Regions from separate parts of the Homo sapiens genome. Here region 1 is linked to region 2. Evidence: promoter capture Hi-C in human tissues and cell types (Jung and others, 2019). All regions are on one chromosome and are shown on one strand. The core of a region is centred on a gene start or on the middle of the fragment in contact, and the rest is flanking DNA. Distances in the headings are between cores, read along the strand shown. Region 1 overlaps ZNF75A (zinc finger protein 75A). Region 2 holds the start of C16orf90 (chromosome 16 open reading frame 90).

The links. The method cuts DNA at HindIII sites, captures the fragments that hold promoters and counts their contacts. A contact is called where the count stands out against the background at its distance.
Region 1: a fragment that was not itself captured here is called in contact with the fragment with the promoter of C16orf90 in region 2 in 1 of the 25 tissues and cell types used here (spleen).

The regions. Positions count from the first base shown.
Region 1 is chr16:3,316,491-3,323,578 of GRCh38, reverse strand. ZNF75A (zinc finger protein 75A) reads right to left here. Exons shown (of 7, transcript NM_001302109.2): 6 at 6,557-6,667; 7 at 4,728-6,389. The coding sequence ends at 5,710. It also overlaps a transcript of OR2C1 not described here and the pseudogene RPL7L1P19. Among named protein-coding and RNA genes, the nearest start is that of ZNF75A, 15 kb to the right of the region's middle. The HindIII fragment of the contact is 3,861 bases long and covers 892-4,752 here.
Region 2 is chr16:3,491,460-3,498,022 of GRCh38, reverse strand. It overlaps C16orf90 (chromosome 16 open reading frame 90), which reads left to right and starts at 2,534. Exons shown (of 3, transcript NM_001080524.2): 1 at 2,534-2,647; 2 at 3,146-3,499; 3 at 4,036-4,539. The coding sequence starts at 2,602. The coding sequence ends at 4,184. It also overlaps a transcript of CLUAP1 not described here and the pseudogene RPL18P12. RefSeq lists a silencer at 4,766-4,975. The HindIII fragment of the contact is 9,668 bases long and covers 1,777-6,563 here.

The sequences.
Region 1 (7,088 bases), core at 1,573-4,072, 170 kb after region 2:
TAGTGGTGTCTTTGTAAAAGTCACCCCCCAGAACCTAAAAATGCTGCGTATAGTGGAACCTTATGTGATCTGGGGATTTCCAAATCTGAAGTCTGTCCGGGAATTCATTCTGAAACATGGACAAGCCAAGGTCAATAAGAACACCATCCCTCTGACAGACAACACAGTGATTGAGGAGCACCTGGGGAAGTTTGGTGTCATTTGCTTGGAAGACCTCATTCATGAAATTGCCTCCCAGTGAAGCATTTCCAGGAGATCTCATGGTTCTTTTGCCCTTTCCACCTCTCAGTGGTCCATCATGCTACCAAAAATACAGTGGGCTTCCTCAAGGAGATGGGCACATCTGGCTATTGGGGTGAATGCATCAATCAGCTCATCTGCCAGCTGAACTAGACCCAGGTGCCAAACTGCAGTAAATTTTTATCAATGAAGTGGAAGCATGTGTTTTTGTTTTTTTGAGATTTTTTTTATCAAGTATCTTCAAAGACTATTTCCTGCTTTATCTTCAAAAACTGGAAAGGAAGGGTTAAAAAAAAAGACAGTAGCTTAGGTTCATGGCAAGTACCTCTCATCACAGTCCAGTTCCAAGGAAAAATTCCAGCATTTTCTACATTGGCTGCCTCCTTGTCGGCGGAAGTAGTCCTGCTTTGTTGAATCTTCTATCCTAGGGTTTAATGTTGGTGAATGAGTAACTCTAGCATTTGTACAAGGCTTCCTAAGACTCCGGGAGCAGTCGACCAAGCCCAGGGACATAATTGAATCTGGAGATTCCTGGGTCCTTGTTTTGAAAAAGACTTGAAATACACATAGGAAGAAAGGCCCAAAAATAAATGTTAACTTGTCAAAAAAAAAAATTTCAACAGTAAGCTTTCTTAGTTTCTCCTAAAAGGTGCATCATATCCAAACACTGTAAAGCTTGATTTTTAATGTCAGCGCTAAGATTGGTGCAACTCAAGATTCATTATCTGAACTGTGGCAGAAATGAAAAGTGATTCAGATAGTTTTCTTAAATCTGAAATGCAATGCAAAAGGTAGCTTGCTTAATTCCTTTCACAGGAGGGATTCAGACTAGGCGAACTGCTTTAGGCAAAGTACACGCATTATCAGATTTGGGTGAATCGTACAGGAGAAAAGCCTTACAGACGCTCGACTGAAGAAGGCATTTCAGTACAGCCCAACTACCATTGCCCAGTGGAGGATTAATACATGAAGGAAACCTAGGCATGTAGCAAATTTGGTTGATGTTTCAAACAGTGCCCTCATCTCGGTCCCCAGTGAACCCACACAAGAAAAAGTGACAGGTGTAGAAAAGATTCAGAAACAAAAGTATGCTTTTTGTTTGGGTGGATTTCTACTGGGACAAACAGTAGAAACGTGAAGTATGGGCAAAACTTTGTTTCCCACTTGAGGGGACTTCAGAGAGTCTACATAGGAGAGAATTCAGTCCACAGAGAATGTGGGGAGAGCTTCAGCAAGTATTTATGCACTAGAAAACCTCCAAGAGAAGAGTAACAGGGCAGCCTTCATCACACATGACAGGGAGGAGTGACCAGGAAATGCTGGAGTAAATGCTTCAGTGGCATGACTCAACAAATATTTGGAAAATCCTTTATGAACTCCCATCTTTTGTTACCAATTGTCCATTTGGATAAAAGAGGCTGCTGGGCGTTCTTCCTCAAACTTACCTGGGAAATTAAACACTGTTCTCAGTAGTTCCAAAAGTTAACAGAAACCCTAGGAGTTTTAGTTTTGAGATTTACTTTGATTCTAAGCCCCTCCTGTTCTTCCCCTCCAGTTAAAAGATATCTGAGGTTGGGCATGGTGGCTCATGCCTGTAATCTCAGTACTTTGGGAGGCCAATGCAGGAGGATCACTTGAGCTTAGGAGTTCAAGATCAGCCTGGGCAACATAGCAAGACCTCATCTCTACTAAAAGTAAAAAAATAATAACCCAGGCATGGTGGCACGTGCCTGGAGTCCCAGATACTCAGAAGGCTGAGGTGGGAGGATTGCTTGAGACTGGGAGATCGAGGCTGTGGTGAGCCCCAGCCTGGGCAACAGAGACCCTTGTCTCAAAAATAAAATATATCTGAGGTTCTCAAGGTGAGCTCAAGGTCCAGTCTGCTTAACGGCAGGGAGAACTCTAGGTCTGGGATGGTCCCAGCACTGAACTTAGACTAGTGCAGGGGACAGGTCAGGAGACTAGACGGGGTCAATGATACAGTTCTCTGAAATAACCGTGAAGCCACGGTAAGGCTGCTATCTGAACATGCTAAAATAAAGCATCCTTCTTGTTTCCTGGAAATCATCTGCCGGTTTATGGAGGACATATTTGTGCATTTAGTACTAATTAGTGCATTTAGTACTAATGTTTAAGGCTAAACCTAGGATTATGTGTCTCTCATTTCATTTTTAAAGCAAGCCTCAATAGATTTTAATATCATGGTTTAAGTAATTTGTTCTCATATCATCTGATATCATTTTAGTAATCCAATCTCATCTCAAGCTACAGAAATCCCTTCTTCCACTCCCCACCCCACAAATTCCAAGGTTGTTATGAGACATCATGTTATGTGCAGCAGCTGGGTACTGGCTAAGCTACGACTTTCCCCCTGGAGGATTCTCACTCCACAGGTGGAACTGTCTTGCTCCTGCCTCCCTGCCCAAGTTTCTCCCCAGTTGTCCGTCATCCCTTAGTCCAGGAAGATAGCCACCTTACTGTCTACACTGATCTGGACAAATTTGCTTTTGCCCTATATCTCATCTGTTTTCTGAGGCACAACTCACTGAAGATACAACAGAGGTAGTTAACAAACCATTCTTTGAAATCTCCTGCATGCATATGAGGAAGGCAATCCCTACCCCCTAACCCCCACCATAGCCCATTCATCAATAGCAATGCCTGTTTTGTGCATGAGGCAACGCGCAGGGAGACAAAGAATAAGGGAAGTGGAATAAGGCCAGATAGGGAAGGAGGGTTGCCTTGTCCCCTTGAACTGACCTCCCATAAGATTTGTCCAAGACAGCAATGTCTTTCTTCCCTATCATCTACAGTCTTGGGAGGTCTTAAGTGGTCCCATTAGTGTTGCATCAGCTCAGTTTAGTATCCACGGGAAGCCAGGTCTCTTTTGAGGGCCAAAGGCTAGGCAGAATGAAAATGGAAAGGTCCAGAGCTCCAGCAAAACAGTCACTCCCCCAGCTGCCCTTTTCCAAGCTCTATTAAGATAGGCCAGGTTGGCCAGGTGCGGTGGCTCACGCCTGTAATCCCGGCACTTTGGGAGGCCGAGGCGGGTGGATCACGAGGTCAGGAGACCAAGACCATCCTGGCTAACAAGGTGAAACCCCATCTCTACTAAAAATACAAAAATTAGCCAGGCGTGGTGGCGGGTACCTGTAGTCCCAGCAACTTGGGAGGCTGAGGCAGGAGAATGGCATGAACCCAGGAGGCGGAGCTTGCAGTGAGCTGACATTGCGCCACTGCACTCCAGCCTGGGCAACAGAGCGAGACTCCGTCTCAAGAAAAAAAAAAAAGATAGGGCAGGTTATGCTACAGAAACACATAGCACCAATGTCTCAGTGATTTAACAGAACAAATGTTTATTTCTTGTTCTCACAAAGTTCACTATAGGTCTGGAGACTCTTGGGAATAGCCGCCCTCCATGCAGTGGCTCAGTGTTCTGGACTGCTTTGATTTCATGGCTGCTCTCTCTGTATGTGGTTCCATGATTAAGGCAGGAAAGGAGAGCACTGGCCTTGTACCAGCAAAAAAATAAAAAAAAAAATAAAAAAAAAAAAATGAAAAGCTTCAGCCAGAGGCTCACAATGCTCACAACTCATTGACCAAAACTATCTCATACCCGTCTTAGAGCAAGGAGCAGGAAAGCAAAACCATTCTTCTTACTGTTCACTGGAATACAAGTTCCATGAGGGGATGCAATTTTGTCTCTTGGCCACTCCTGTGTCCTCAGAGTATAGGACAGTGCCTGACACATCATAGGCCTTCATTAAATTGAACAGAATGAATGAATGTAGGGCCAGAAAGAAAGCCACACATGATCTGGGAGAAGAAACAGAATCCTGGAGGTCTTAAGTTAAGGTGGTGCTGGGTAAGAGCTATGTAGACCAGAGCTCCAGAGTTGGCTGTACTTAAGAAACAATTAGTATAGGCTGGGCACAGTGGCTCATGCATGTAATCCCAGCACTTTGGGAGGCCGAGGCGGGTGGATCACTTGAGGTCAGGAGTTCGAGACCAGCCTGCTCAACATGGTGAAACCCCGTCTCTACTAAAAATACAAAAAATTAGCCAGGCGTGGTGGTGGGTGCCTGTAATCCCAGCTACTCTGGAGGCTGAGGCAGAAGAATTGCTTGAATCTGGGAGGTGGAGGATGCAATGAGCTGAGATCACACCATTGCACTCCAGCCTGAGTGACAAGAGCGAAACTCTGTCTCAAAAAAAATAAAATAAGAGGTTTGGAAGAGGTCAGTTATTTAACCCCTTTCCTGATATACCTAAGAGCTCTAAAAGGAATGCACCTGAGTCACTGCTGTAGCTAAACAAGCAAGTTGTAAGAAAATCCATAGGCTATACAGACTTTTGGCAATCCATCAAATTTATCACCTGAGGCTGCTGTTAAATGCTGTGCTGGAAAGAACAAAGACAGGTAGAGCTTACAGGACAGGACAGAACAACATGGATGTAGATTTGCTCATCCTCGCCCAACACTTAGCACCAGTGCCCAAATCTTTTATTTAGGGAACCGTCTCCTGCTGACTACATGTCCAGGTCTCCATGCCAAATGAGCCACAGGATCCTGCCTGCAGCACACACACTCCAACTCCCATGGAAATTAAGTCTCTCATTCTTAACAACAAAGAAAAGCCAATTAAAAAGTAAACAAACAAAACTGAGAAGTTGATCTTAATTCCCACTAATTCTCTTTCAGGCCTTGGGCAAGTACTAATTTTTATAGCTGCTTTATCCTACTGACATTGCAAGGCAGGGATTAACAAGTCTAGTTTCTTTTATTGCAGAAAATTCTTTACATCTAATATATATTCCATGGCTACAAATTCCAACCCGTTTCCCCCATGATTCCATTAGAGATGTCTTCTATTTTCCAAACATCACCAATGAGAGGCATAAGACAGTGCATTAATAGTTCATCTGGAGATTCCCTAGTGGTGGTTAACAAGATTTCATCACAGTAAAAAACTGTGATAACAGGATCCAAGAGAAGTTGCCGAAAAGTTTAAGAAGGAACTCAAGTGATGTCCAACTTTGCAAACCGTGTCCAATGACAAAAGAAAGAAAATCCAATTTGGTTCCTGGAACACTTTACATTGTAATTCATTTCGGCCTCATGAGACTATGGAAATTGGTAAGCCTGCTACTGTGAAGAGAATGGTATGCAATTAAACATGCATGTTACTGCTTTTTGTTTTGGAAGACCATGCTGCCAATGTTTCTATTGGATGTGTTCAAAAATGACTGGAGAGATCAATACAAAGCCAACAATGTTTACTTCTGTGACCACAGAAGACTACTGAGTGGCTGCAGAGCAAGTCTTGATTATTTTCTGTGAAATGTATGTTTATCCCATTTTCTGATGTAAAATTTTTCAAGGTTTGTGATTTTTCTTTTACATAAATTTTAGTGCCAAGCTCCATTTGGTGAATGTCTTCAGAATGAGGACACTGGACAAGCTTCTCTTCACAGGTGGAGTTTCTGGTGTCTAAGAAGGCTTGACCGCCTGCTGAAGTTTCTCCTGCATATGCTACAAGTATATGGCTGCTCACCTGTGTGGGTTCTCCGGTGTTTAATAAGGTGGGAGTTCTGACTGAATTTTTTTCCACATTCATGACATGTGAAGGGCTTTTCTCCTGTATGAGTTCTTTGGTGTGTATGTAAATTTGTATTTTGACTGAAGCTTTTCCCACACCATGAACATTTATATGGTTTTATTCCTTGGTGTGTTGTTAAGTGCTTATTAAGATCTGAACTCCATCTAAACCTCTTATCACACTGTTGACATTTATAGGGTTTCTCTTCAGTGTGAATTCTTTGGTGCTTAATAAGGTCAGAGCTAACTCTGAAGGTTTTCCCACATTCCTGACATTTAAAAGGCTTCTCTCTTGCACAATCTTTCTTGTGACGATCCATAAGTTTGAGCAGCTCTTGTTTCCAGGTTGAAAGTTTCTTTCTTTTCTTCACTGGAAAATCTTGGTGCCATTTTCCCACTCTGTGCATATCAAAATGATTTTCTTTGCCTGCTGTTTTCTGGGGAACTTTTACTTTGGCCTTTTTTGATATGACGCCTGCTGATGCTTGTATTTCTAAGTCAGAAAGAGACACAGGCTGATGATTTTCAGTGTCGTTTTTGAGCTTTAACCCTGTTGGAATAAACATAATCACACATCTGTATCCCAGAACAAGCAAATCACAGGAATAAAAAGAAAAATTCAATGATTAAAAAAAAAAGGAACAAAATCTTAAAATGTTAAGCCCTTGCAAAAGTTCACATCAAGGCACATTTCTCCACTTCCCATGGTATATTTACCTGTAGGAGATTTTCCGGCACTATCCTTAAACTCCGGGGATACTTGAACCCATGGCTCTTCCCCTTGCTCTAGACAGGAGATCACTTTAGGTTTGGGGAGCACAAACAATGCTGTCAAATGGACAAAATGAGGTCAAGGACTGGTAACTTAACAGTGAACTGGTCCACTAATCCCAGACTGTTTCAGGATGACCAAAGACATTTTACAATTTGTTACTCCAAATGGTTAAATGGATAGACTCCAAGATTAAGTATCACGTTTATACTATGTTATACTTATAGGTAGCTATGCAAAGCAGAGACTAAGAAATAAATCTACGGTGGATCAATGAAAAGGATATAGGGAATGGGAATCCAGTACATGTTCTCTCTCTTTTGCCATCAATACCCTATATCCAACCAAGGGGGAACCAAGCTCCAGAAGTTGCAGGGAATATAAGCTGGTCTTATTAACTCTTCAGAAGGACTCAGCCTGGATAAGACCAGGTATGGCAAAGCCAATGTGAAGGACGCTGACTTGAGTATCATAAGC
Region 2 (6,563 bases), core at 1,285-3,784:
AGCATATTGTGCGACTTCTCAGCCCGGATAATCACATAAGCCAATATCCCTAATAAATCTTCTCTTGGCTGGGCACGGCGGCTCACACCTATCACCCCAGCACTTTGGGAGGTGGAGGCAGGAGGATCACTTGAGCCCAGGAGTTCAAGACTAGCTCTGGGCAACATGGTGAGATCTCCATCAGCAAAAATTTAAAAAATTAAAAATTAAAAAATGAAAATAAATTAAAAAATTAGCCAGGCCTGGTGGTGCACACCTGTAGTCCCAGCTACTTGGGAGGCTAAGGTGGGAGGATTGCCTGAGCCTGGTAAGTTGAGGTTGCAGTGAGCCGTGATCATGTCACTGTACTTCAGCCTGGGCAATGGAGCAAGGCCCTATCTCAGAAAAAATTATATAAGGAGATTTATTTATCCTCTAATAAATATTTTCTCTGTAAATATCTATATACATTCTGCTGACTATATTTCTCTGGAGAAGCCTAATACACTACATGAAGGCCATTTTGATTTTGATAAGAATTGTACTGAGCACTTTGGGGAGTGTTGCTATCTTAACAATATTAAGTCTTCAGTCCATGAACATGTGATGCTTTCCAATTTATTTAAGTCTTTAGATTCTCTCAGCAATGTTTTATAGTATTCAGAGTTGTCTTATACCTCCTTGGTTAAATGTATTCCTATTTTATTCTTTTTATTCTTTGCTAGTATCTAGAAATACAATTAATTTTTGTGTGGTGATTTTATGACTTGAGATTTTTCTGAACTTCATTAGCTCTGAAAAAGCTCTACTAGGTTCAGGATTTTTTTTTTTCAAGTATGAATTATTTAATATTTCCTACATACAAGATCAGGTTGCTGGGCGCGGTGGGTCATGCCTGTAATCCCAGCACTTTGGGAGGCCGAGGTGGGCGGATCACCTGACGTCAGGAGTTTGAGACCAGCCTGGCCAACATGGCGAAAGCCTGTCTCTACTAAAAATACAAAGATCCGTTGGGCGTGGTGGTGGGTGCCTGTAATCCCACCTGCTGGGGAGGCCGAGGCAGGAGAAGCTCTTGAACTCGGGAGGCGGAGGTTGCAGTGAACCGAGATCGCGCCACTGCACTCCAGCCTGGGCGCCAAAGTGAGACTCCATCTTAAAAAAAAAAAAAAAGAAAAGAAAAAAAGAAAAATCAGGTCGTCTGTGACAAGAGAAAATTGAATGTTTTAACTTTTTGTTTTTTTGTCAGCATCCAAAATCTTTTTAATAAGAGGGTTCGTTTTTGTAGCCTCGGCTGGCCCGTAGGCCTCTGGCGCGCTCGAACTTCTGGTCCCTGGAGCGGAAATAGCGTTTGGTGTGGCTGTGTGGGGTTCCCAGGGCCTTGCCGAAATGCCGGTACACCTGTCGGCCCTTGCGAAGACCGGAGAGTAGGACGGGGCCGCCGTCCTTGAGGGAGTCCAGGGCCAGCTGATCGAAAGTCAGGATCTTGGCCCCCACCCTGAGGATGCCGCTGTGGGCCGGCTGGTCACGGGCAGCGCACACACCTTAAGTTTGGGCACCTCCTGAACCCTCGCGTCATCCGTTAAGCGTCCCCACAACCACGGCCGTTTTGTTTTCCCAGCCAGGAAGCTTCATCTTCCGGATCATCCGGGAAACGGACAGAGGTGGCCGGTTGGTGCGACTCATAAACAACCTCTTCAGCACAACCTGGTTGAATGTGGAGTTAGTTCGTCTGGACGGTAACCTGTACAGCTTGACCAACAAACAGCCTCAGTTAGATATCCTGGCTCTTGGGCTCTTTGCGCCGAACCTTTAGGTCCTTCTTGTGGCGGACGTCAGCTCCCATGATGGCGCTTCCTGCTTGGCCAGGTCCGGAAAGATGAATGTTTAACTTTTTTTTTTTTTTGAGACGGAGTCTCGCTCTGCAGCCCAGGCTGGAGTGCAGTGGCGCGATCTGGGCTCACTGCAAGCTTCGCCTCCCGGGTTCACGCCATTCTCCTGCCTCAGCCTCCTGAGTAACTGGGACTACAGGCTCCCGCCACGACGCCCGGCTAATTTTTTTGTATTTTTAGTAGAGACGGGGTTTCACCGTGTTAGCCAGGATGGTCTCGATCTCCTGACCTCATGATCCGCCCACCCCGGCCTCCCACAGACCTCAACTGATCAGCCTGCCTCGGCCTCCCACAGTGCTGGGATTACAGGCATGAGCCACCGCCCCCAGCCCCTTTTCAGCATTTTCAAAGTACCGACCTAGGTCTTCCTAGGTCTGTACTCCTGAACCCTCATTTCCCACCCCAGATGAGGAAGCTGGCCCCAAGAGATCACCTGAGAGAAGGACTCTCCAGTTTGCCAGAGCTGTCTGTTTTATGTGGCCTGACCCCAGCCAGAGGGACCAGGGACTTCCCCCAGGGTTCTGGCCCCTTCCCATGCCTTTCTTTCACCCTGCCCTTGCCTTGGGCACTGTCCTCTCCCAAACTAGGGGTCCAGGAAGGCTGGGAGTCTTCCCCGTGATGTCATAAGAACCAGTTGCCAGGGGAGACCTGCCAATGTACCCCCTAGGCAGGGGAGAGCAGGGCCCTGCTGCACCCAAGTCCTGGTTGCTCCTCCCCACCACACTGGCCCTCCATGGAAGCCTTGGTCTGTGCATTTTCTGAGCTGCACATAAGAGAAGGTGCCGGGCTGTGGGGAGGAGTGGCAGGAAGAGAGATAGGCTTCTGTCCCCACCTGGGCCCAAAGCCGAGGGGTGGCCTCAGGGACATGTATGCTTGGGAGAGGGGAATGGCCACTGGGCCAGGCCATGAGCCCCTGGGCTGGCCACTTTCTCTCAAACCCACTGTGCAATTTCTCTGTGGGGACCAGAATACTCTTCCTAGGGTAGCGGGCAGAACAGGGTAGTAGAAAGGACTTGAGGTCCTGAAAGCACTCTTAGTACCAAGGCCCGAGGCTTCCCAGGCCTCCCTGTTGGTTGGGAGTGGGAAGAGGAGTCGTGTCTTGGGCATGGGCAGGGGAGGCAGTGGACTGAGACTATTTGACACACAGGTAAACTGAGGCCAGGTTGGCTGGGGGTGTAGCCCATCATGTGAGCTGGTCTCAGAGGTATGTGACTGCACCCTCCCCTCATGGCTGCTGTGGGGGGCTGGCCACCACCCTCCCGCTGTCTCCTCTGCAGATGCAGTGAGCCAGGCCCAAGGACGCCCCGGCCACCCTGACGCACCCCCCAACATCTACGAGGGGGGCCTGGGGTCCCCGCAGCCGCAGTGCCCCAGTGCCCAGGGAAGCAAGCCCAAGAACTTCCGGCTGCGCCACCTCCGGGGCCTGGGCCTCTACCTGGAGAGCCACCCGCCACCCACTGGCCAGTGTGAGAGCCACTGGCTGGGCCGGCTTATGGCTGGGGGCTGCCTGCCACAGCCTGAGGGCACAGCCTGGGCCCTGGACCTGCCACAGGGGACTCTGGGCCCACGTAACAGCCTCTGTTCAGCCCTTCTGGAAGCCCGATTGCCCAGGGACAGCCTGGGAAGCAGTGGTGAGCTCTGTCAAGGCAGGACTGGGCACGGGGGAAGACCCTAGGGGATGGTTGGGCTGGGGCCTCAGGCGGGCCCTTCTCCACTCCCAAGCCTCCACAGTGGCACCATGCCCCAGAAGGCCAAGATCTTGATGAATCTGTCCCCATCTCTGCATCACGCACAGCTAAGCGGGGTCTGGAGAATCCACCAGGGACAAAGCGGTGCGAGAAAAAGGGAGGATCTGGGAGGGAGGGCTGGGTGACTGCCCCAGCTCCACACTCGGTGAGGGGCCTTGGAATCTGTCTCCCTTGCTGGGCCTCAGTTTTCTCACTTGTAAAATGAGGGTTCAGGTTAGATGAGGGTCCTTCCAGCTTGAACCATTCTGTTCCCTCAACCTCCTCCCTCCCCTGGGGATTCTGTTAAGGAGGAAGCATTGCCCTCCTCCCTTCTGTTTTCAAGAATATCGGATTCTGGAAACCCCAGGGTGGGCTGCCAGCCTCCCCCCCAGCCTCCCCTTGGGTCCCTCAAGTGACTCCTTTCTCTCCTCTTTCCTCAGCTTCCAGTTCCAGCATGGACCCAGACAAGGGTGCCCTCCCCCAGCCTAGTCCTTCTAGGCTCAGGCCCAAGAGGTCCTGGGGGACCTGGGAAGAGGCCATGTGTCCCTTGTGCAAGAGAACCCGCTCTGGGGCCCTGGAGAGGCCATAGGGATCCCGAGTGCCAGGACTGGGTACAGGAGGGGCAGGATGGCCGAGGAGGCAGCCTGAGCAGGAGGGGCTCGGCCCCCGGCAGTGGCCCTGCCACATGGGGTGGCCCAGGCAGCGGCCCAGCGCCCAGGCCTGGGCCTCGGGAGAATGTGATGGGGAGAGGGAGGAGGAGGAGGTTCCGAGGGAGGGGCAGAAGCAATAGAAGCATGGCCGTGCCCTTGCAGCCTGCTTAGACTCCAGTCAGCCACTTGTACCTGGGAGGCCGGGCTGAGTGCAGAATCAGGCCCCCCCGCCACCGCCTCCCTGAGAGGCCGGGGAGCCCACAGCTCTGATCTCAATAAAAGCCAAGGCCTGCACGTTCTTGTCCATCTGCCTGTCTGTCATCAGGCCAGTTTGGTGAGAAAAACAGTCCTGTGTCTCTCCAGGGATGGGTCTGCCGCGCCCCCACTCTTAGTTGCCAGGGCATGAGAGGCGTGAGCTAGGGCAAGGGCCTGTGGGAACACCATACTTGTCTGTGAGAGCTTCCTGGATGAGACACTGCTGAGCTTGGCTCCATAGGGTGGGTAGGGGCTCAACAGCCCACCTTTTCAGCCACCATGCCTGGCTAATTTTCTTTTCTTTTTTTTTTTGAGATGCAGTCTAGAACTGTCTAGAGGCCAATTTAGAGCCAGTTTTCTTTGGGGCCAGCATGTGGCTGCAGCAGATGTCCTTCTCAGGGGTGAGATCCTGGCTACGGCTGTCTGTGGCTGAGTTACAGACTGTCTTTTTTTTTTTTTTTTTTTTGAGACGGAGTCTTGCTCTGTGGCCCAGGCTGGAGTGCAGTGGTGCAATCTCGGCTCACTTCAAGCTCCAACTCCCAGGTTCACGCCATTCTCCTGCCTCAGCCTCCCGAGTAGCTGGGACTATAGGCGCCCGCCACCGCGCCCGGCTAATTTATTTGTATTTTTTTAGTAGAGACGGGGTTTCACCGTGTTAGCCAAGATGATCTCCATCTCCTGACCTCAGCCTCCCAAAGTGCTGGGATTACAGGCGTGAGCCGCCGTGCCCGGCCTAATTTTCTGTTGTTTTAAGAGTTGGGGGGAGGGGGTCCTGCTGTTGCCCAGGCTGGTCTCAAACTCCTGAGCTCAAGTGATCCTCCTGCCTCAGGAGGATCCTAAATGCAGGCCATGGCATTGTGGGTGGAGGGCGCAGCGGATGAAGGAAGGCAGGGCGGGGTCAGGGAGGGCACCAGGGAGGACAGCAGCAGAGGCAGGGATGTGGACCTCGGCCCCACCTGCCCCCTACCAGGTGAGGTCACTGCTCCGCGGGACCCCAGCTCCCAGGTCCCTCTGGGCAGGATGAGCACAGCCCTTCTCCTCCCAGCCGGACCAGACTCTGCGCACCCAGGTGTGGGCTTCCTCTGTGCCGGGGTGTCTCCACTCGACTCTGTTGATGTTTGGGATGGGATCTTTCTTTGGGATGGAGGCTGTCCTGTGCATGTAGGATGTTAAGCAGCATCTCTGGCCACCACCCACTTGGTATCTGTAGCACCCTCCTCTAAGCTGTGACAGCAAGTGTCTCCAGACATTGTCCGGTGTCCCTCGGGAGCACTGTTACTGTGGATGAGAAGCCTGCTGATACAGTTAGGCTGTGTCCCCACCCAAATTTCATCTCCAATTGTAATCCCCATGTGTTGAGGGAGGGTTCTCATGGGAGGTGATTGGATCATGGGGTGGGGGGTGGGGGGTTCCGCCATGCTGCTCTCATGATAGTGAGTTATCACAAGATCTGATGGTTTAAAAGTGTTTGGCGGTGGGCCAGGTGCAGTGGCTCACGCCTGTAATGCCAACACTTTGGGAGGCTGAGGCGGGCGGATCACAAGGTCAGGAGATCAAGACCATCCTGGCTAACACGGTGAAACACTGTCTGTACTAAAAATACAAAAATTAGCCGGGCATGGTGGCAGCTGCCTGTAGTCCCAGCTACTCAGGAGGCTGAGGCAGGAGAATGGCATGAACCCGGGAGGCAGAGCTTGCAGTGAGCCGAGATTGTGCCACTGCACTCCAGCCTGGGTGATAGAGTGAGACTCTTGTCTCAAAAAAAGAAAAAAATAATAAAATGTGTTTGGCAGTTCCACCCTTCCTCCCCACCACCGCCTCTCTCTCTCTCTGTCCTGCCGCCTTGCCAAGAAGGTGCCTGCTTCCCCTTTGCCTTCCATGGTGATTGTAAGTTTCCTGAGGCCTCCCAGACACCTGGAACGCTGAATCAATTAAACCTCTTTTGTTTATAAATAACCCAGTCTCAGGAAGCAGTGTCAAGACGGACTAACACACTTGTTCTATTCCACCAGGTCTCCATCCTATGGGAAGAAGACGGGAGCACCTGGGTTTGCCTCAGTGAC